Linked DNA regions of Homo sapiens: regions 1, 3, 4, 5, 6 and 7 are each linked to region 2. Evidence: promoter capture Hi-C in 16 types of primary human blood cells and fetal thymus (Javierre and others, 2016). All regions are on one chromosome and are shown on one strand. The core of a region is centred on a gene start or on the middle of the fragment in contact, and the rest is flanking DNA. Distances in the headings are between cores, read along the strand shown. Region 1 has its middle 71 kb from the start of LINC02551. Region 2 holds the start of ADAMTS8 (ADAM metallopeptidase with thrombospondin type 1 motif 8). Region 3 overlaps SNX19 (sorting nexin 19). Region 4 has its middle 42 kb from the start of LINC02551. Region 5 has its middle 21 kb from the start of LINC02551. Region 6 has its middle 19 kb from the start of SNX19. Region 7 overlaps LINC02873 (long intergenic non-protein coding RNA 2873).

Region 1 (2,700 bases), core at 23-2,522, 360 kb before region 2:
ATATTGATTTTCAAGTGCCATAAAACACTCACCAGGACAGGCACTATTCTGGATTATAAATTTAAAATAACAAATTGGAAAGAACTGAAATCATACAAAGAATGTTCTCAGATCATAATGGAACTAACTAGAAACCAACAATACAAGGCAACAGGAAAAACCTCCAAATACTTGGAAATGTAAAAATGACTTCCAAGTAATTCATGGGTCAAAAGAGGACATCTAAAAATGATGTCAGAAACATGGCAGAGTAGAAGGTCCCAATTCTATTGCCCCCATAAAAATGATGATTAAACAACTACCTACTCACTAAAATATCTCTAAGAGAGCTCTGGAATATAACAACAAAAAAGCCACAGCAAACCACTGGAGTACAAAAACTGAGCGTGGGCCGGGTGTGGTGGCTCACGCCTGTAATCCCACCACTTTGGGAGGCCAAGGCAGGCAAATCACGAGGTCAGGAGTTTGAGACCATCCTGGCCAACATGGTGAAACCCCGTCTCTACTAAATATACAAAAATTAGCTGGGCGTGGTGGCTGGTGCCTGTAGTCCCAGCTACTCGGGAGGCTGAGGCAGGAGAATCGCTTCAACCTGGGAGGTGGAGGTTGCAGTGAGCTGAGATCATGGCAGCCCGGGTGATAGTGCAAGACCCCATCAAAAAAAAATAAAATCAAATCAAATAAAAAAAAATAAAACTGAGCGTGGCCACATCAAAAAGCATAGAAAACATTTTACTTATATCATCTCATCCCCCAGTTCAACACAGCTCAGCACCAAAAGAGATTCCTTCAGTCATGACCTTCCCCATGAGGGAAAAGAAGAGCAAGAGGAGCCCAGCAGCCTTCCCCAACAAGGACCCCAGAAGCCCTCACCACCACTGTGGACACCCACAGCTTTTTTTTTTTTTTTTGAGACGGAGTCTCGCTCTGCTGCCAGGCTGGAGTGCAGTGAAGCAATCTCGGGTCACTGCAACCTCTGCCTCCCAGGTTCAAGTGATTCTCCTGCCTCAGCCTCCCGAGTAGCTGGGACTACAGGCTCGTGCCACCATGCCTGGCTAATTTTTGTAGTTTTTTTAGTAGAGACAGAGTTTCACTATGTTGGCCAGGCTGGTCTCAAACTCCTGACCCCATGATCTGCCCACCTCAGCCTCCCAAAGTGCTGGGATTACAGGCGTGAGCCACCGTGCCCAGCCCACACCCACAGTTTTTGCCACCAAGGATCTCTGCATTCTTTGCTGACAGTGAAACCAGCTGATGGATTTGCCCAGAGTCCATACCACTACTCCCCCTCCAGGGAATGAGGTGCCACTGCCCCCTACCCCATGTTCCCAGGGCTGAATCCACCCCCTAACCCCAGCACCACCGCACACATGCCCTGACCTTGGAACCAAGAGATATCCCCTCAGCCATGACTTCCCCCTAGAGGGGGAAAGAGAATAGGAGGACCACAGCACCCTTCATGATTGAGTACTCAAGCAGCCCTCACCACCACTAAAATACCTACAGCCTTGGCCTCACTGACACCAATCTTAGCTGATGAAGTTGACCAGAGTCTATGCTATCACACCCCTCAAAGCAGGAGGTGACCCTACAACCACCCCCTGAACCAGAGCTGCCATGCTTCACGCAGCTCGTGCCTTCACACCCATCCACAGAAGAATGTCTTTTCCCACCAAAGCCAGTCTATAAAGTCTAGGACAGGTGACTGCTCCTTCAAATGCACAGACAGATGCAAGACTACAAGGAACACAAAAATCAAGAAAACATAATACCATGAAAGGAATACAATAATTTTCAGTTACAAATTCCAAAGAAATAGAAATCTACAAATTGCCTGACAAAGGATTTAAGATAAATGTTTTCAAAGAAATTCAGCAAGCTAAAAGAGAACACAGATAGACAACTCAACAAAATCAGAAAAAAAAAATGCATGAACAAAATGAAAACTTCACCAAAGAGAAATAATAGAAAAGAACTAAACAGAAATTCTGGAGCTCAGCAATACAATGAATGAAATGAAAAATGTGATAGAGAGCCTCAACAGCAGACTTAAGCAGAAGAACTAATCTGCAAACTCAAAATTAAGAAGGTGCTGTCACTCCCAGTTGCCAAGTCAAGCCCCGTCGAAGGAAAAGCATGCATAGAACCAAGCACAGCCAAAATTTCTTTCCCAGGATCAGCACCTCCTTCTGAGGCTGCAGACAAAGACTGTCAAGGGACCCCATTACTCCCTGTTGAAGTCTCAGAGCTCATGGGTGTAGCTTCTTTGGTGTCAGGGGCTCTGGATGCTAAGCCAGTAGAGAATCCTGAAGATCCTAGCCAACGGATTAATAAAAACTGGAAGAAGGCAATTGTGACATGGCAGGAACAAACTGAGAGAATATTTATATTTTGAAGTAGATGGATCCAAACAAAGAAATGTGAATAAGATCAAGGAGTTTGGCTAGGGGTCTGAGAGACACTGTCAGACCAACCTGCATTTGAAATGGGCCAGTGTCTGAGTCATGACAACATAAAGGTAAAGGTGCCCTGAATGTGCCCCTAGTCCCTGGGTCTGCTCTCGTCACCTCTTGTCACTTCAGGAAGCAACAGCCAGGAGTGAAACATGTAACCTGAGGTGGGAGGAAGGAATTTTTCAGAAGCTCTTCCTGGACAAGGTGAGTCCTCATGAACTGATCCTGACCCCTATGAACCCATACC
Region 2 (2,700 bases), core at 149-2,648:
TGCTAGGTTGGGAAGTTCATCCTTTCATCTAATTCACAGCTGTCCCTCTGTGTTTCTGAGAAAGCAAAGAGAGGGGGGATACTTAGAGGGAATTTGGCAGCACTTTCCCCTGGGCAAGAGCCTCCTCTTTGGAGGTAACAAGCCCTGAGAGTCTCAGATGCATGCTGAACCACCACACTGCAGGAAGGGGTCAGATGGGCTGAAAAGAATCAGCGATGACCTCGACTGTCAACATCCCCAGCATAAGCACAGAGCTGGGTACCTGGGGGCAGGTGAATTGGCAAAGGATTTAAAGGCCCTGATCCCAGCGGTTCCTAATGCATCACCCACATTGACAACTCAGAGAAAGGCACAGTTGGTGGATGAGTCTAGAGTTTGTAGGTAGAGAACAGGGCCCTCCACCCAATCCAGACCTGTGTCATTGAGACTGGGATGGGATGCAGTTTTGTGGTCTTGAGACCATGTCATCCCTCTCTTCCTGAATACTACCCCCTTCCCTAGGGGGCAGTGGTGACATGGGACAGAATAAATTCACCTCATACACATTTGTTCCTGGGGCTGTGGCAACGCAGTGAAAGGGCCTGCCACCTTACTTGAAGTCCCGGGCAACTAGCAGTATCCAGAAGAGAAGACCTTTTTCAGGGACTGGAGGTCTGTTTCCCTCTTGGGGAAATGCTAACTTCCAACCTCAGTGCTGGTAACTTACCACTGTGCTGGCCTCTGCCCCACCTGCCCTCTAACAGGACAGTGAGAGTCCCTCTTAGGGTTAACCAGGTGGGTTGTTTTTTGTTTTGTTTTTGTTTTCCCCATCTTCAGTTTGGAGTGAAAGTTAGGAAGGCTGTGCAGTAGTGATGAGAGGAGGGCATGATTTTAGCATGACCTTTTCCTCCTCTCCCTTTATGCTTTACAATGAAAAGCTCAGGAACCTTCTCCCCACACAGTCGGATCTCCGGAGGCATCTGCAGGGATCCCAACAGTGTCGGGCTCTGCAGTCGGACTCTGCAGGGATCCGAACAGGGTCGCTGAGACCAGTGCACGAGCCTCTTCGGAAGATGCATCCTGGACTCTTGGCCGCAGAGGAGAAAGCGGTTGGGGTCTCCCAGGGACTCTTTCTAAAGGGTCAGTCCAGCATGGTAGGGGTTAACGTGGGTCCACGCGTAGAGGGAAAGGAAAGAAGTTGTAGTTGACACTTCAGGGGGGCGGGTGGCGGACGGGTCTCGCTGCCTGATTGGTTTTGCATTTCATCCCAATTTTTTTTTCTCCACTCTCTCTCCCTCTTTTCAGTTTCTCTCTCTGATCCCAGGGGAGGGGAAACGGGAATAGTGAGAGATCAAAAATAAACCTCTTATGTCAAGCCGGGAAGGAAGTATAAATAAGAAGGGCTCGGCAGCCCACTCGGTGCTTCCCGGGGTGGGGAGGAGGCAGGAGGCGGCTGCGCGGGGCTGGCGCGGGCAGGGGCGGAGGACGGGCGCACGCGGGCCGGGGCCAGCTGCTCGCGCTCGGCTCGGGGGCGGCGGCGCGGGAGGAGCGGGCTGCGCCAGCCAGAGGGGCCGCCGGGGGAGCGCTCCCGCCGCCGGGCCCCGCGGGCCGAGTCGGCCTTGCACCCGATTGATTCCGCTTTTCCTGGAGAGAGCGGCCGGGCCGCGCTCGGGCCGCCAGCACCTGCCCGCGCCTGGCGGGCTTCTTCCCTCTCCTGCGCGCAGCCACCGCCGCAGCCCCCATGCTCCCCGCCCCCGCCGCCCCCCGGTGGCCTCCGCTCCTGCTGCTGCTGCTGCTGCTGCTGCCGCTGGCCCGCGGCGCCCCGGCCCGGCCCGCAGCCGGGGGGCAGGCCTCGGAGCTGGTGGTGCCCACGCGGTTGCCCGGCAGCGCGGGCGAGCTCGCGCTCCACCTGTCCGCCTTCGGCAAGGGCTTCGTGCTGCGCCTGGCGCCCGACGACAGCTTCCTAGCGCCCGAGTTCAAGATCGAGCGCCTCGGGGGCTCCGGCCGGGCGACCGGGGGCGAGCGGGGGCTGCGCGGCTGCTTCTTCTCCGGCACCGTGAATGGGGAGCCCGAGTCGCTGGCGGCGGTCAGCCTGTGCCGCGGGCTGAGCGGCTCCTTCCTGCTGGACGGCGAGGAGTTCACCATCCAGCCGCAGGGCGCGGGGGGCTCCCTGGCTCAGCCGCACCGCCTGCAGCGCTGGGGTCCCGCCGGAGCCCGCCCCCTCCCGCGAGGACCCGAGTGGGAGGTGGAGACGGGAGAGGGTCAGAGGCAGGAGAGAGGAGACCACCAGGAGGACAGCGAGGAGGAGAGCCAAGAAGAGGAGGCAGAAGGCGCTAGCGAGCCGCCACCGCCCCTGGGGGCCACGAGTAGGACCAAGCGGTTTGTGTCTGAGGCGCGCTTCGTGGAGACGCTGCTGGTGGCCGATGCGTCCATGGCTGCCTTCTACGGGGCCGACCTGCAGGTAGGACTGAGAGCCTCCTCCAGCCGCCGTGCCCGGAGGCCCCCCAGACGCCTCCCAGCGTCTCTAAAATCTCCCCTTCCAATCCCTCTGAGAAAAAAAAAAAAAAAAAAAAAAAGCCCTCCCCACTCATCTTCTCCAGCCTTACCCCAAACGAGATTCTCTCCTGTCTGAGAAAGAGCAGTAACTCTTTTCTGAACTTCTGCCACCCTGGATCCCTGCGCCCCCACCCCCAGGTCCCTTCCAGTTTAGAGTGGGGCTGC
Region 3 (2,700 bases), core at 133-2,632, 450 kb before region 2:
AACCAGTGGCAGTTGGTTCCATCCAGGTGTTGGGCAAGGCAAAGTATACCAAATCCCTGAATATACAGCCATTTACAACTTAAGAAAGGCATAGTGAGTGATAATAAAGTGTGTCTTAGAAATTGAATTACAGCTTAAAAAATTTAGAGATTGTATTGTGTGAGGGCAGTGGCAGTTGTGGTGGTGATTTTTTTGGTTTGCTCTTTATCATGTTTTCCTTCCAGATTGGCGTGCTCATCATTTTTAACGAGACACCATCGCTCAGAAGTTCTGTGAACAAGAAAGATTTGTTGCACTTGGTCTTCTACACAGGCTGCCTGGGACTAGGAAATAAGACCATGCTGAGCCCAAAGGCCTAGGATAAAGCCTCTGTTTGCTGACAGGGGGAAGGGTGGGCAGAACGTAGGCAAGAGGAGAATCCAGGAAAGAGAGCAAATGTTTAAACCATGCGTGGTGCAAGTGTGTGGTTTGTGTCTTTTATCTTCAGAGTGTGGAGAAGAATAAGGAAAGCTGGCACTCTGCAGCTCCCAGGGACTAGAAGTCACTTTCCAAACTCTGTCCCTCTTTGTAGGCCTGGAGGGAGTTTATTTCTGCCAGTTTGTGAAAGTCCTGTTTCTTATATTCCTGGGCCTGACTTTTTCCAGGGCCTCCTGTTGGCCAGTTCTGTGCCTTGTATGTACAGTGCTTGACAGTGTCTTTGTCTCATCAGCAGCTGATACTTACTCAGAGATGGCACTCCTTTTCTTCGGTGAGTTGTGCTTATTAGCTTCCACAAATTTATTTGACTCATAGACTCATCTTCATCATCAGGTGCTTATTTTTACTTTTCCTACTTTTATGTCTCTCCCCAACATTTCCATTTAGAGTCTGAAAAGCTGTCTTATAGATTTGTATAAGTTTATAAATTTATATTTTGCCACATGATAAAATTCATTTTGCATCCCACACATGTACATGAGACACTTAATCACCATGCAAGAGAACAAGGAGGATATCCTTGTCCTAATGCCATGTGAGGTCCTGTCCCCATCAGATAAATTAATGTTCATTCAAAAGAATGTAACTCTTGCTTTGTAAGACATGCCAGAAGATGGCTGAGGTACCTAGGCTTGCTGGCATGTTACAACATGTTCAGTCTAGGAAGGATCATGTGGCTAAAGATTTTAGTTTGCAAGACTTTGCCCCTCTCCCTCAAGACAGTTAGATGAGACCCTAAGACACATCATTCTCCTCAGCAAAAATTGCAGAAGTATACATGGCTTGAGGTGAAGAAAGGAGACCTTGGGTCACTTAATCCCCTGCAGAGAAGCCGATCAGGTCATTGCAGCCACCTCCCTCTAGTGACCCTCTTACATAAACAGGAACAGGAATTCTTGCTACTGGATTCCTTTCATCAGGCATCTTAGGCTCACTGAATGAAAAGCCCTATAAAAAGGAGATGCGGCCCTAATAATAACAAATACGATCGTGTTGGCTATTTTGGACAAGAACAGCTTTGTGCCACTCTTGATCTCCATCGATGGCTGCCATTCTTGCCCTGCTATTACCTTACACACTTCCTATTCTTAGAATCAGTTGTGAGCCTTGGGCTTGGGGGATTGCAGCCCTCATGGCTGGAATGCCCAGCTTGAGTGGAATGCAGACTGTCTGGCAGAGTGGAGGTTAAATAAAGTTTGCCTTGGCAGCCCCCTCTGCTCTTGGATGAGTGACAAGTGACTCGAGTATAGGAGCGAGGAGTGATGGCATGAGCTGCCATGTGGTGCAGGATCAAACGAGTCTTCCGTGCATGAATAGAAGTGGTTGATTGTCCATCCATGACCCACACAGCTATGTCAGTCTTAAATGAGGTGGGTGAAGGGGAGGCCTCAACAGCCTTGAACCTCACTTCTGACCATATCACTTTGAAAAAAATTCAGGAACAGATCAAGAATAACGTTGAACCACTTTCTAGGTTTCCAGCTGAACTCCAGATTTGGTATATCTTCCCCCTCATTTTTGACTCATTTTTGAAAGTAAGATAAAGGGAAAATTTTGACTCATTTTCGAAAGTAAGACAAAGGGAAAATTTTTCATTGAAATAAGAACAGTTATCAGTCAGTCAACCATTTCTTGAGCACCAAGCACGGCGGGGAGTTTTTTTAAAGTACAAGACACAGAACTCTTACAGCTTATAATTTAGTTGAAGAAGTAAAGCTATAAACACCTTTAAAAAGATGCATATTCCAAAGTAATTGTTCCAGAGCTACCTGCCAAAGGAGGTCTATGGAGAAGGAGAGCACTTCCAGCTGTGATGGTCAAGGATTTCATGGAGGAAGTAGGGTTGAAACAGGTCTTGCCAGAAGGGCAGACTTGAGACTTGCTCTTCAGGCAAGGCGAGAAGAGGCCCTTGTTAGTGAGAGAACTATTATGAACAAAGGGCAGATGTAGGAAATCCCTAAGACAGTCATGAGGACCAGAAGATATGGCTGGGGAGGTAGAGAGAGGAATTTGTTTAAAGATCGCTAAGTCCGTAGCTGTGAAGTCTGTGTGTACATGTTACCAAGAAGGTTATAATGCTTCCCATCAGAGGAGAGCTAGAAAGATAATAGGTGCAGCCTTGCCAGAGGAGAGTTGGGAAGGTATAGGTGCAGGCTCACCCAGAGACGGAGGCCCTTTTAGTGTTCTGTTCTGTAAAACTTCTTGTACGGTAGATGGCACATA
Region 4 (2,700 bases), core at 132-2,631, 390 kb before region 2:
ATGAAAGGTTTCTACCAGCAAGAGAGAGAGAAAGCCCTGAGCATACTCTTTTAAGCTCCTCCCTGTGTCCCCTTTGCTAATGTCCATTGGCCAAAACAAGCCACATGGTCAAGCCCAAGATTCAAAACATAGAAAAATAGAGTCTACCTTTTGGTGGGGAGAGATGCCATATCACATGCAAAGAGACCTCAGAGGAATGAGAAAAATGTATAGGTATAGCCTTCTTTTTTTTTCTTTCTTTTTTTTTTTCAGTAAGTCATGATCAGAGAAAGCTTTACAGAAAGGAAGGGGCTTGAAAGATGGCTAGAGCTGGGACATGTGACAGATTTCCCATACATGGAGAGAAAGCCCGCAGAGGCAAGATAGCTGAGGGGTTTGCAAGGCCCAGCAAATGCTTCCTCTGGGCTAGTGGAAGGTTGGGAAAGTAAGTTGGAACACAATCATGGAGGAGATGGAGTGTTGTCTTTAAGAACTTGGATGGTCTCCAATGGCCTTCTAAGAGGTTGACCTCCACTTTAGGGGCACAGCCCTCCCAAGAGAACATGCTCCACCTGCAGCTGTGCCTGTTTCCTCCTGTTTCTGCAGTGCCACCACCACTGACTCAACAGTCAAAGGACCTACGGTAGCCAGTCTACAGGCTTCCAAAGACCTACTATGGCCTGTCCTGAAAAGCTGAGCTGAGAGAGATAAGCTGGGAAGAGGAATCTGGGAGATGGAGGCATGAACAGCAGAGGTGAAGGTGAAGGGCACATTGAGGTTCAGTGACAAACAGGGCATCCAAAACCCTGTTCAAACTGGACATGTGGGAGCTGAGGGTGAGGAGGTCAGCTGGCAGAGAGCAGAGAAGGAGCAGATGAAAAGAGAGAAGCAGACACAGAGAGAAGATAGGTCCCTGGAGCAGCCTCAGATCCTAAGGATTTCCCCATCCAGGCTGAGATTTAAGGGTAATTCTCTTTCTCCTCAGGTTTTGAATGGCCTTGTCCCTGCATCAGGTGATAGATGGGTCTGCCCCCTGCATCAGATGATTGGTGATTCTGCCCCCTGCATCAGGTGATTGATAGGTGGTTCTGTCCTCTGCATCTAGTGGTGGATGATTGTGTTGCATTTCATGTGAAGGGTGATTCTGTCCCTGTTTCAGATGATGGACAGTCCTGTCTCCTGCACCAGGTGATGAATGGTTCTGTCCCCTTCATCAGGTTATGTAGAGTTCCCCGCATCAGAGATGGGAGATTCTCTCCCTTGCATCCCTGGGTAGAACAATGGCTGGAATAAAGTCTTGAAAAGGACAGGGAGACCATGGATGGAAGTATATCTTGCCAGGAAGCAAAGTGAGGCAGAGCCTCAAATGTAGTGGGCATTCAGGGGAGGAGTTGTTCTTAAGATGAGCTGTTCTTTCTCTACCTCTTCTAGCAATTAGACATACCATAAAGTGGAGACTGAAGCCATCATATTTGCAGACAAATGCTTTGATTTGGTAAAGTCTTGAGAGCTTAAAAGTGTTATTTTGAAGTCTATGTATTTCTTCAGTTATCATTTCTTTCAAATATTTTATCAGTTCTCACTCTGGTTATTAAAAGCCAGAAGCCATCCCATTCTGCAGTATTTCTTTGGGGAGCATTTACAAAGTGCATCTCAGCAGTGGCACAGGAAAATATATTTCCCTGGAAACCAGAAGTCACACAATAGTCCTGCCCTCCAGAGCCCCATGGGATGGAGAAATCCCCATTATAATTAAAATCTGATTATTCTGCTTTTATGTCGCCTCCGTTGCTGTAAGTGAGAGCTGGTCTAGCTGCCAGAGCACAGAACGACACAGATACAATGTGATGTGTCAACCACTCATGTTTCTTTTTTATGAGATCAACATTTATAACTCTGCAGTCAGCCCACTGACAGACTGTAAAACTTGCCTTATTGGAAGCAGACACATCAACCACAAGGCACCACTTGTTGAAGGCTGATTCCAGTCTTCCCTGGGTATGAGTTCATCCTTAGAGAGAAAGCCACTGGGACTGGCAGTGTCCTGAGTTTCATCTAGAAACGTTCATGCGCCTGTCTTGGATCCCCTCGACATTGCTCCTTGTGAGAAACACCCACGCAGCAGCGTCCTATCACCACTTGCATATGTATGAGTTAGGCACCACAGCCTGATTTCTTATGAAATATACTTCAGCAGAATTCAGGCCCCATGAATGCAGTCGAGTCTTACCCTCAACAGTATTTTCTAAAGCTACCTATTGCTCACTACCTGGGTACAATATACCCATGTAACAATATCGGCCATTGGCCAAAACAAGCCACATGGTCAAGCCCGAGATTCAAAGCATAGAGAAATAGAGTCTATGTTTTGGTGGGGAGAGATGCAATGTCACATGCAAAGAGACCTCAGAGGAATGAGAAAGATGTATAGGTATAGCCTTCTTTTTTTTTTTTTTTTTTTTTTTTTTTTTTTTTTTTTTTTTCAATATGTCAGGATCAGAGAAAGCTTTACAGAAAGGAAGGGGCTTGAAAGATGGCTAGGGCTGGGACATGTGGCAGATTTCCCATACATGGAGAGAAAACCCGCAGAGGCAAGATAGCCGAGGGGTAATGCTACCTATTACTACTATGCTCACTACCTGGGTACAATATACCCATGTAACAAACCTGCACATGCACCCCCTGTATCTAAAATAAAAGTTGAATTTTTTTAAAAGAGTA
Region 5 (2,700 bases), core at 194-2,693, 410 kb before region 2:
TGAGGTTTAAAGAAAAAAAATTCCTGGGAACAAATAGCATATCTGTTATTATGTGCAAACACTTCCTGGCTATAAGTGCTCTCTGACCTTCTCCAGATTATGCCTCTGAACTCAGAAAAGGAATTTTTATTTCAATAAAATAACTTAAGACACACTCAAAATCCTTGGAAATGATTGTCCTCTAACTCATTAGGATTTCTCTGCTTGCTTCTGTGACTTTTCTATTAAGCCGAAAGATTCTAACTGTTCTTTCTCTTCAGGTAAAATGTTTAGGTTTAAAGATTCCCCATGTCTGTCTTAGCATGTGAGCATCTCTGCCTCTAGGCATATTTTTTAAATCTATGAAGAAAACATAATGTTTCATGCTTTAAGGGTTTATTCAAACCCTTCATCTAGTTTCTTCTAATCAAAGCTATGAGTTCCTGGTAATTTAAGCTCAGGAAACGCACAAACACATCCCTAGATTTTCTTCCTTCTAGAATAAGGATCAGCAGACTTTTTCTGTAAAGGACCAGATAGTAAATATTTTAGGCTTTGCGGGTCATATGGTCTCTATCACAACTACTCAACTCTGCCCTGTAGAATGAAAGCCACTGTAGAAAATACATAAACAAATGGACATGGCTGTGTTCCAATAAAACTTATTTACAAAAACTAGCAGTGGGCCCTAGTTTACCCACCCCTCTTCTAGATAATGAAGGAGAAGAGGAGGAGGATATTGATGACCAACTACAACTCACGTTCATTGCTTTCTCTGTGAAAAATACTGAGGTAGGTATTCTATAAGTATTATCTCACTTAATCACCAAACTTCCATAGATTAGGTACAGTTATTAAACCCACTTTATAACTGAAGAAACTTAGCTTTTACATAGGCTAAACCATTTTCCCAGTCGAATAACTAGTAAATGGTGGAGCCAGAACTCACATCTGACAGCAAAGCTCACGCTAAGCTATGCCATGAAGCAAACACATTCGTTGAATGACCCAAGCCTTTGGGTCAACTTGTTTAAGAAACCACTTAAAAACACAATGGGAAAGCTTAGTAAAGTCTCAGCCTTCAAATTCAATAGGAAAATTGAACATAATTTTAATTTTCTTAATCCACATAGAGTTTGGGTCATTGAAATATTTAGTTGAACAAACATTTATTATGCCTTTATGAGCTCCACCCTGCAATAGTGATTTGAGGAACATGAAAATAATAGAATTTAGCCGCCTTAATTCAGACACACTTGAAGTCTGTATGCGGGAGGGACTTTTCCTCCCCTTTCTTCTCTTACAGTTCATCTTGGTTTGAGAAAGCAGGCACACAGCTGGCATTGTTTAAGGAAGGCAACAAAATTTATTTGAAATTGTCCACAGCCACAAATGTCTTTGCCTTTCCAGCCTCCTATGATTAATATTTTCACATGGATTTTTTTGTTCCTTTTATGATAGCGCTGTAAGCAATTCCTAGGGAATTTCAAGTGATCTTACAAAAGTCTTCTCCCAAGATTTAAAGCCCCAAGTCCTCATATAATCTTTCCCAGGACATCTTTTAGCCAAGATGTTTACCAGTGAGTATCCCACTCAAAGAAGCATCCCAGTCTGTCTAATCAGTGCCTGTGGCTGTCTTAAAACACAGCTTCACCCCTCAACCCCTCTCCTTTCACATGTCTACACTTCTACAATTGCAGGGTCTCTCTGTGTTCTAGGGGGATGGGTTAGAAAATTGGGCATGTTTGTAATAAGCAAGTGTACTTAAACAGTACAGAATCACATAAAGGAAAAGTGAAAGTTCCTACTCTCATACAGCTAACAACCCATAATAGTTTTTACCTCTATCAGTTCCAGAAAAGCTTCCCTCAGCTATCATCCATGAAATTTCTTCTCTTTACCCACTCTTCTTACCCCACATAAAATGCCTTTTTAATTTCCTTCCCTTCCAAGTATATCTGCTTAATTGTTATTATGCCTCATTTGCACTAAGTCCAAATGGAAACCAGCCTATGGTGGTGGGATTTGGTGTTGTTTTCCCCAAGGTCAAACCTCACACAGCTGTTCAGACTGAGCCCTCTCCAGCTCCCAGCAGCTGCCCAACGTTTATGTTATGTTAGAGATGTTCTCTAGTTGCAGAGCCCAGAGAGCTTGCTGTTCAGCCAAGAGAAATCCTCAGGGAAAAGAGTCAGAATGAATGGTTGCACGTTATGTGCAGGGTTGCTGGGCACTTCCTTTGTGTTGCATTTCCCACACGTAAACTAATGCAAACCAGTGCAGATTAACCACTTGGACCCACAGCTTTTTGGAAAACCTTGAGTTCTTGCTTCCTCAACATATAGAAGGTTACCCTGAAAAGCCCAAGAATATACTAAGGACTGCTCTGTGGGATTGAAATATATATCTCTGGTTAATAACCACTGGGAAGCTAAGAAAACAAGGTGGTGGGGGGCCAACTTGTGTAACTGCAGTGGCTTGGAAAAGCATGGAATTCAGTTCTATATTATTATGGCGTGACTATTCTTTATAAATAGATGAAATTTGACAAGGAAAAAGTAGAGAAGGGAAATAGGAGAAAAAGAAAAGATGAGATTCTACATTTACACTGTTGAGTTCTGTTTGGTAGAGCACCTCATCTATACTTATGAGGCTGTCACCTGACTGCCATTCTATGGACATCTTGACTCTTCCCAACACACATCAGCATCCCCAGTTGCCACG
Region 6 (2,700 bases), core at 187-2,686, 510 kb before region 2:
TTCTAGTCAGAAACAATGAAAGCCAGAAGAATGTGAAGCAATATCTTTAAAGTACTAAGAGAGAAAACTTTCAACCTAGAATTCTACAGACAGAAAATATATATTTCACAGGTAAAGACTTTTTCAGGCATACAAAAGGTAAAAGTTTTTATTTCCAACAGAGCTGAGCTATAAAAAACATTCAGGAAGTCCTTTAGGCAGAAAGAAAATTATATCAGAAAGAAATGTGGATCCACACAAAGAAATTAAGAGCCTCTAGACATGGCAACCACATGGATAAATATAAAATCTATTTTTATTATTTGAATCTCTTTAAAGCAGAAAATAATAATAAATATATTCTAGGGCTCAGAAGATATGCTGACATTAAATGTAGAACGACAATATAACAACAGCCAAAAATAGAGAAATCCATAGATACTGTTATAATTCTCTTAAACTCTATGTAAAGTGGTATGACATTACATGATAGGAGATGTTATTTAGTTAAATATATATACTATAAACTCTAAAACTACACTAATAAATTATAGCAAATGAAGCAACACAGGAGACAATCTGGTATAGTTAAAATGCTCACAATCCAAGAAAATGAAACAGAAAACAAAGCATAGATGGAAAAAATGAAAAATAAATAGCAAGATGGCAGATTTAAAATCATCATATATGATTATAATAAATGTTAGTGGTTTAAACATCCTAATTAAAAGGCAGAGGTTGACATATTTGATTTAAAAAAGCAAGAACTAACTATAAACTACCTATGAAAACCCACTTTAGATATATTAACACAAATGTGTTAAGAGTAAATACATGGAACACTGCATAACATTCTAACACTAATCAAGAAAAAAAGCTGGAACACAATTTGAAAGGAGCACCATTAGGCAATTTTGGAGCAGGGCACCCAAGAGAATAATGGCACAAAATTGAAAATGAGGGACTTCTTCTCAACTCATTCTATAAGGATAGCATTACTCTGATTTCCAAACAAAAGACATTACAAGAAAAAAAAATAAAACACACACACACACACACACACACACACACACATATATACAATTGGTCTTCAACTTACAATGATTCAACTTACCATTTTTTTACTTTAAAATGGTGCCAATTTATGATGGGGTTATGTCCAGATAAACCAACCATAACCTGAAAACATCACATTGAAAATATACTTTTGAGGCCGGGTGCAGTGGCTCACGCCTGTAATCCCAGCACTTTGGGAGGCCGAGGTGGGTGGATCACAAGGTCAGGAGATCGAGACCATCCTGGCTAACACAGTGAAACCCCGTCTCTACTAAAAATACAAAAAATTAGCCAGATGTGGTGGTGGGCCCCTGTAGTCCCAGCTACTGGGGAGGCTGAGGCAGGAGAATAGTGTGAACCTGGGAGGCAGCGCTTGCAGTGAGCCGAGATCACGCCACTGCACTCCAGCCTGGGTGACAGAGCGAGATTCTGTCTCAAAAAAAAAATACACTTTTGACTTCATATTTTCAATTTATTATGGTTTTATTGGAACATAACCCCGTATCTTAAGTCAAGGAACGTGTGTGTGTGTGTGTGTGTGTGTCTGTGTGTGTATACACAAGATGAGGTATATACACACACACACATAATGAGGTTATAGCCATCCCTCATAAACACAAATGAAAGAAAATTATTTAAATTGTGGCCAATTAAATCTAGTAATATATTAAAAAAGGATAATACATTGTGACTGAAGGAGCCTTATCCCAAGAATCCAAGGTGGGGCTTGCACTGCAACATTAATCAATGTAATTCACCATATCAACAGACCATATGATTATCTCAATAGATGTAGAAAAAGTATTTAATGATGCTATGGTTAGTTTTATGCATCAATTTGGCTAGGTTATAGCACTCAGTTATTTAATCAAACACTAATCTAGGTGTCGCTGTGAAGGTATTTTGTAGATGCAGTTAGCATCTACAATCAACTGACTTTAGATAAAGGAGACTACCCTTGAAAATGCAGTTGCATCTCATCCACAGTCTTGAAAGACCTTAAGAACTTTGAAAGGTTTTCTGGAGAAGAAGAAATTCTGCCTCAAGACTGCAGCATCAACTCCTACCTAAGGCCTGCCCTACAGATTTCAAACTTGCCAGCCCCAAAACTCTGTGACATATTTCCTTCAATAAATCTCTAGACAGGTAGACAGATAATTTATATGTAAAAATATTTATCGACTTCTTTAGTCTCAACTACTCAAGAGGCTGAGATGGGAGGGAGGATCACTTGAGGCCAGCAGGTGGAGGTTGCAGTGAGCTGTGATACCACCACTGCACTCCATCCCGGATGACAGAGTGAGATTCTGTCTCAGATACATATACACACACACACACACATCAATTTTATATATTTATAGGTATTTTATATATTTGTTTTTATAAAAGTAATATTTTATATATAATATTACTGTCCTGTTTCATATATATAATAAAACATATATGTTTATATATGTGTATATATAAAAACATGTTTATATATGTTATATATATGACAGGACAGTAATATTTTATATATATAAACAGGATAGTAATATATATACATATATAAAACAGGACAGTAATATTATATATATAATATTATGTATGTATGTACATACATACTTACATCCTCCATCTCCTGGAGGCCTTTGACCTACCCAGTTCTCTTCCCCTTTTTTGCTT
Region 7 (2,700 bases), core at 116-2,615, 260 kb before region 2:
AAACTGACTTTTGGGGCCGGGCGCAGTGGCTCACGCCTGTAATCCCAGCACTTTGGGAGGCCGAGGCGGGCGGATCATGAAGTCGGGAGATCGAGACCATCCTGGCTAACACGGTGAAACCCCGTCTCTACTAAAAAATACAAAAAAATTAGCCAGGTGTGTTGGCGGGCACCTGTAATCCCAGCTACTGAGGAGGCTGAGACAGGAGAATGGCGTGAACCCGGGAGGCGGAGTTTGCAGTGAGCCAAGATTGCGCCACTGCACTCCAGCCTGGGCAAGACTCCGTCACAAAAAAAAAAAAAAGAAAAAGAAAGTGACTTTTGGTTACTGTGCTCACTACCTGGGTGATGGGATCATTTGTACCCCAGACCTCAGTGCCACGCAATATCCCCTTGCAACAAACCTGCACATGTACCCTCTGAATCTAAAACAAAAGTTGAAATTATTTTAAATAGTTCTGTTCTTAAATATATTCTGTCTGCAACAGACATTTATCAAGTACTTCCTGTTTTCCAGCATTTGACTTTAACTGGGGGCCCACATAAAAAATTTCTGATCTTTGGAACAAATGTATTGATTCTAGAAAAATCTTGTCCCTTATTCATTAATTTATCAACTCTTTATTAAAAATTCTAAGATGTGAGCTCAGTTGCAACACTTCACTTTGGTCTAGTGTTCCTCAGTTCCAAGACCACTCTCTTTCCCCACCTTACATTACCTACCACCTTTATTATTTAGGAATAATATTTAAACCAATGCATTTTTTATTTTCCTTAAATGATTGTTCTCTTAAGCTTCCCACCTATAGAACCAATTGCTTTTGAAGAGAGGCAAGTATCTATCTACTAGAACAAAGATGCAATGAGCATCAAAGATAACTTTCTTGGGTTCTCAGCTGGACAACAGACTTTGTTGAAAGAAGAAAGATACTCTCTAAATTCTGAACACTCCCTGTAAGTATCAGAAACCATATGTGGTCAGCTTGGATCATAGAGAATTACAAAATACCTTAATGCGCAGACCACACAGGCATCTGGACAGTTTGCTCCATGGGTTCTTTCTGTCAGGAGACCAATGCCTACCCAAGTCTTGGCCTCAGGGTGGGGCAGGCAAAAGAATACTGGCGGTGGATGGACCGAGTGGGAAGCTGAAAGCAAAAGGAGCTTGAGCCCCATTTCCAACTGGGACTCCAGGATGTGAAGGCCTCACTGCCCCAAGACATACATAGTTAAATGGCAGCATGATGTGTGGGTTTAGAAAGGGACAGATGGACTGAGATAGCCCCCTTTCCTTTTCCTCTACCATTTCCTTTCTCTTTTCCTCATGATTCTCCACACCTATGCCTGCTGGCTAGGGAGATATTCAGAATTTCTGGTGAGCTCCAAGAGAAAATATGTGATTTATCTACCCTCAAGGCTTCTCTTATTCAGACCCTTCTATAACTACCTCAAGTTTCCCGAATTATTCCTTATTTTTCATGATTTTTTCAACAGTCACCATCCCTCTCCCTTTGACCAGAATCTGGCTGGCAATGCCTCTCTCTATATAGACTCGAATATAATTTTTAGATGGGGTACTAGCCCCATGTACAATGGGTCTGCCATTTCACCTGCTCTTGTCACTACTGCTTGTAATGCAACCTAAGAATTCAAGCTCTATTTTCTTCATTATTTCACAATGTGGGTTTATCTTAAGTGTGCAGTCAACCAAATTTCAAACCAGGTCTTTACCACATGATACTTATGTAAACTGATTTTTTCTTTAAACCAAGTCGGGACTTGACATTTTACCAGTTGAATTTCATCTTATTGATTTTGGCCCTTAATTCCAGTCTTTTGAGGTTATTTTGAAATACTACTCAGTTCTGGCCATCTCTTATTCAACATTTTTATCAGCTAATTATATGAAGACATATAAGATATACGTATCAAGCTTGTGGGTAACACAGGAAGTCCTATATCCCTGGAGGCCTCCCTTTGGAATGACTCTAAAGCATTAATCAGCACATAAAAGAACAAGAGAATACCTCCCTTACTAAAGCACAACACAAAACTTGCCAAGCTTTTTGGAGAAAAGCTCCAGAAATATGTCTGGCTAAGCACTCAGACTGCCTTAACTTCAGTTCAGAGCACTGGGGTCAAGTCAGACAGACCTGTACTGGGGTGGCAGTTGCGGGAGAGTTACTTCATTTTTCTAAGCCTCAATTTTCTTATTTGAAAGTGAAAATCATGAAAGTAAGCACCTAATAATTCACCTATGACTACATAATAACTCCTGCATATCCAAGACGTTCTCATATCCCCACACCCAAAACACACTGAGATTCATTCCATCTGGAGAGATCCGCCACACATACACACAGGGAGGCACCTTCACTTACTACTGGCCTGAAGTCCAACAGTGCTTCCACTGTTCATTGATCAAAATATACCCATAAGAATTAGCCTACTCATGGTAATAGGAATTTTTATTCTTCTTGGCTGTGGTGTTTGACCATTATAAATTCATTAACTACACTCTAAACTTTTCATCTTATTGCCAAAGATACAATAAGGCATACTCAGACTAACTCCTTGCTAAATTCTACATGTAACACCTCTAATGCATTCCCAGATTGACACTGACTTCCTATATTAGTATTCACTTGTCTCAATATCCCCAAGCAGTAGTGTCTTTGAAGCCAATGTGTTGGACTTGGTC

What was found. Contacts are between HindIII fragments. The CHiCAGO score rates a contact against its expected background, and 5 or more counts as called.
Region 1: a fragment that was not itself captured here is called in contact with the fragment with the promoter of ADAMTS8 in region 2 in 3 of 17 cell types (M2 macrophages, M1 macrophages and endothelial precursors); the score reaches 7.4 in M2 macrophages.
Region 3: a fragment that was not itself captured here is called in contact with the fragment with the promoter of ADAMTS8 in region 2 in 16 of 17 cell types (naive CD8 T cells, naive B cells, fetal thymus and 13 more); the score reaches 22.8 in naive CD8 T cells.
Region 4: a fragment that was not itself captured here is called in contact with the fragment with the promoter of ADAMTS8 in region 2 in 5 of 17 cell types (M1 macrophages, M0 macrophages, endothelial precursors and 2 more); the score reaches 14.3 in M1 macrophages.
Region 5: a contact is called between a fragment that was not itself captured here and the fragment with the promoter of ADAMTS8 in region 2, in 16 of 17 cell types (M2 macrophages, endothelial precursors, M1 macrophages and 13 more). The highest score is 36.4, in M2 macrophages.
Region 6: a fragment that was not itself captured here is called in contact with the fragment with the promoter of ADAMTS8 in region 2 in 2 of 17 cell types (naive CD8 T cells and naive B cells); the score reaches 5.6 in naive CD8 T cells.
Region 7: a fragment that was not itself captured here is called in contact with the fragment with the promoter of ADAMTS8 in region 2 in 3 of 17 cell types (M2 macrophages, endothelial precursors and M1 macrophages); the score reaches 5.3 in M2 macrophages.

Annotation. Positions count from the first base shown.
Region 1 is chr11:130,790,253-130,792,952 of GRCh38, reverse strand. It overlaps the pseudogene PPP1R10P1. Among named protein-coding and RNA genes, the nearest start is that of LINC02551, 71 kb to the left of the region's middle. The HindIII fragment of the contact is 5,949 bases long and covers 1-2,700 here.
Region 2 is chr11:130,427,307-130,430,006 of GRCh38, reverse strand. ADAMTS8 (ADAM metallopeptidase with thrombospondin type 1 motif 8) reads left to right here and starts at 1,398. Exons shown (of 9, transcript NM_007037.6): 1 at 1,398-2,440. The coding sequence starts at 1,721. The HindIII fragment of the contact is 10,262 bases long and covers 1-2,700 here.
Region 3 is chr11:130,881,358-130,884,057 of GRCh38, reverse strand. The region is part of intron 8 of SNX19 (sorting nexin 19); the gene reads left to right. Among named protein-coding and RNA genes, the nearest start is that of LINC02551, 21 kb to the right of the region's middle. The HindIII fragment of the contact is 3,697 bases long and covers 1-2,700 here.
Region 4 is chr11:130,819,005-130,821,704 of GRCh38, reverse strand. No RefSeq gene overlaps it. Among named protein-coding and RNA genes, the nearest start is that of LINC02551, 42 kb to the left of the region's middle. The HindIII fragment of the contact is 2,213 bases long and covers 275-2,487 here.
Region 5 is chr11:130,839,565-130,842,264 of GRCh38, reverse strand. No RefSeq gene overlaps it. Among named protein-coding and RNA genes, the nearest start is that of LINC02551, 21 kb to the left of the region's middle. The HindIII fragment of the contact is 800 bases long and covers 1,044-1,843 here.
Region 6 is chr11:130,933,929-130,936,628 of GRCh38, reverse strand. No RefSeq gene overlaps it. Among named protein-coding and RNA genes, the nearest start is that of SNX19, 19 kb to the right of the region's middle. The HindIII fragment of the contact is 3,143 bases long and covers 1-2,700 here.
Region 7 is chr11:130,688,702-130,691,401 of GRCh38, reverse strand. All of the region lies in intron 1 of LINC02873 (long intergenic non-protein coding RNA 2873), which reads right to left. Among named protein-coding and RNA genes, the nearest start is that of LINC02873, 17 kb to the right of the region's middle. The HindIII fragment of the contact is 1,138 bases long and covers 797-1,934 here.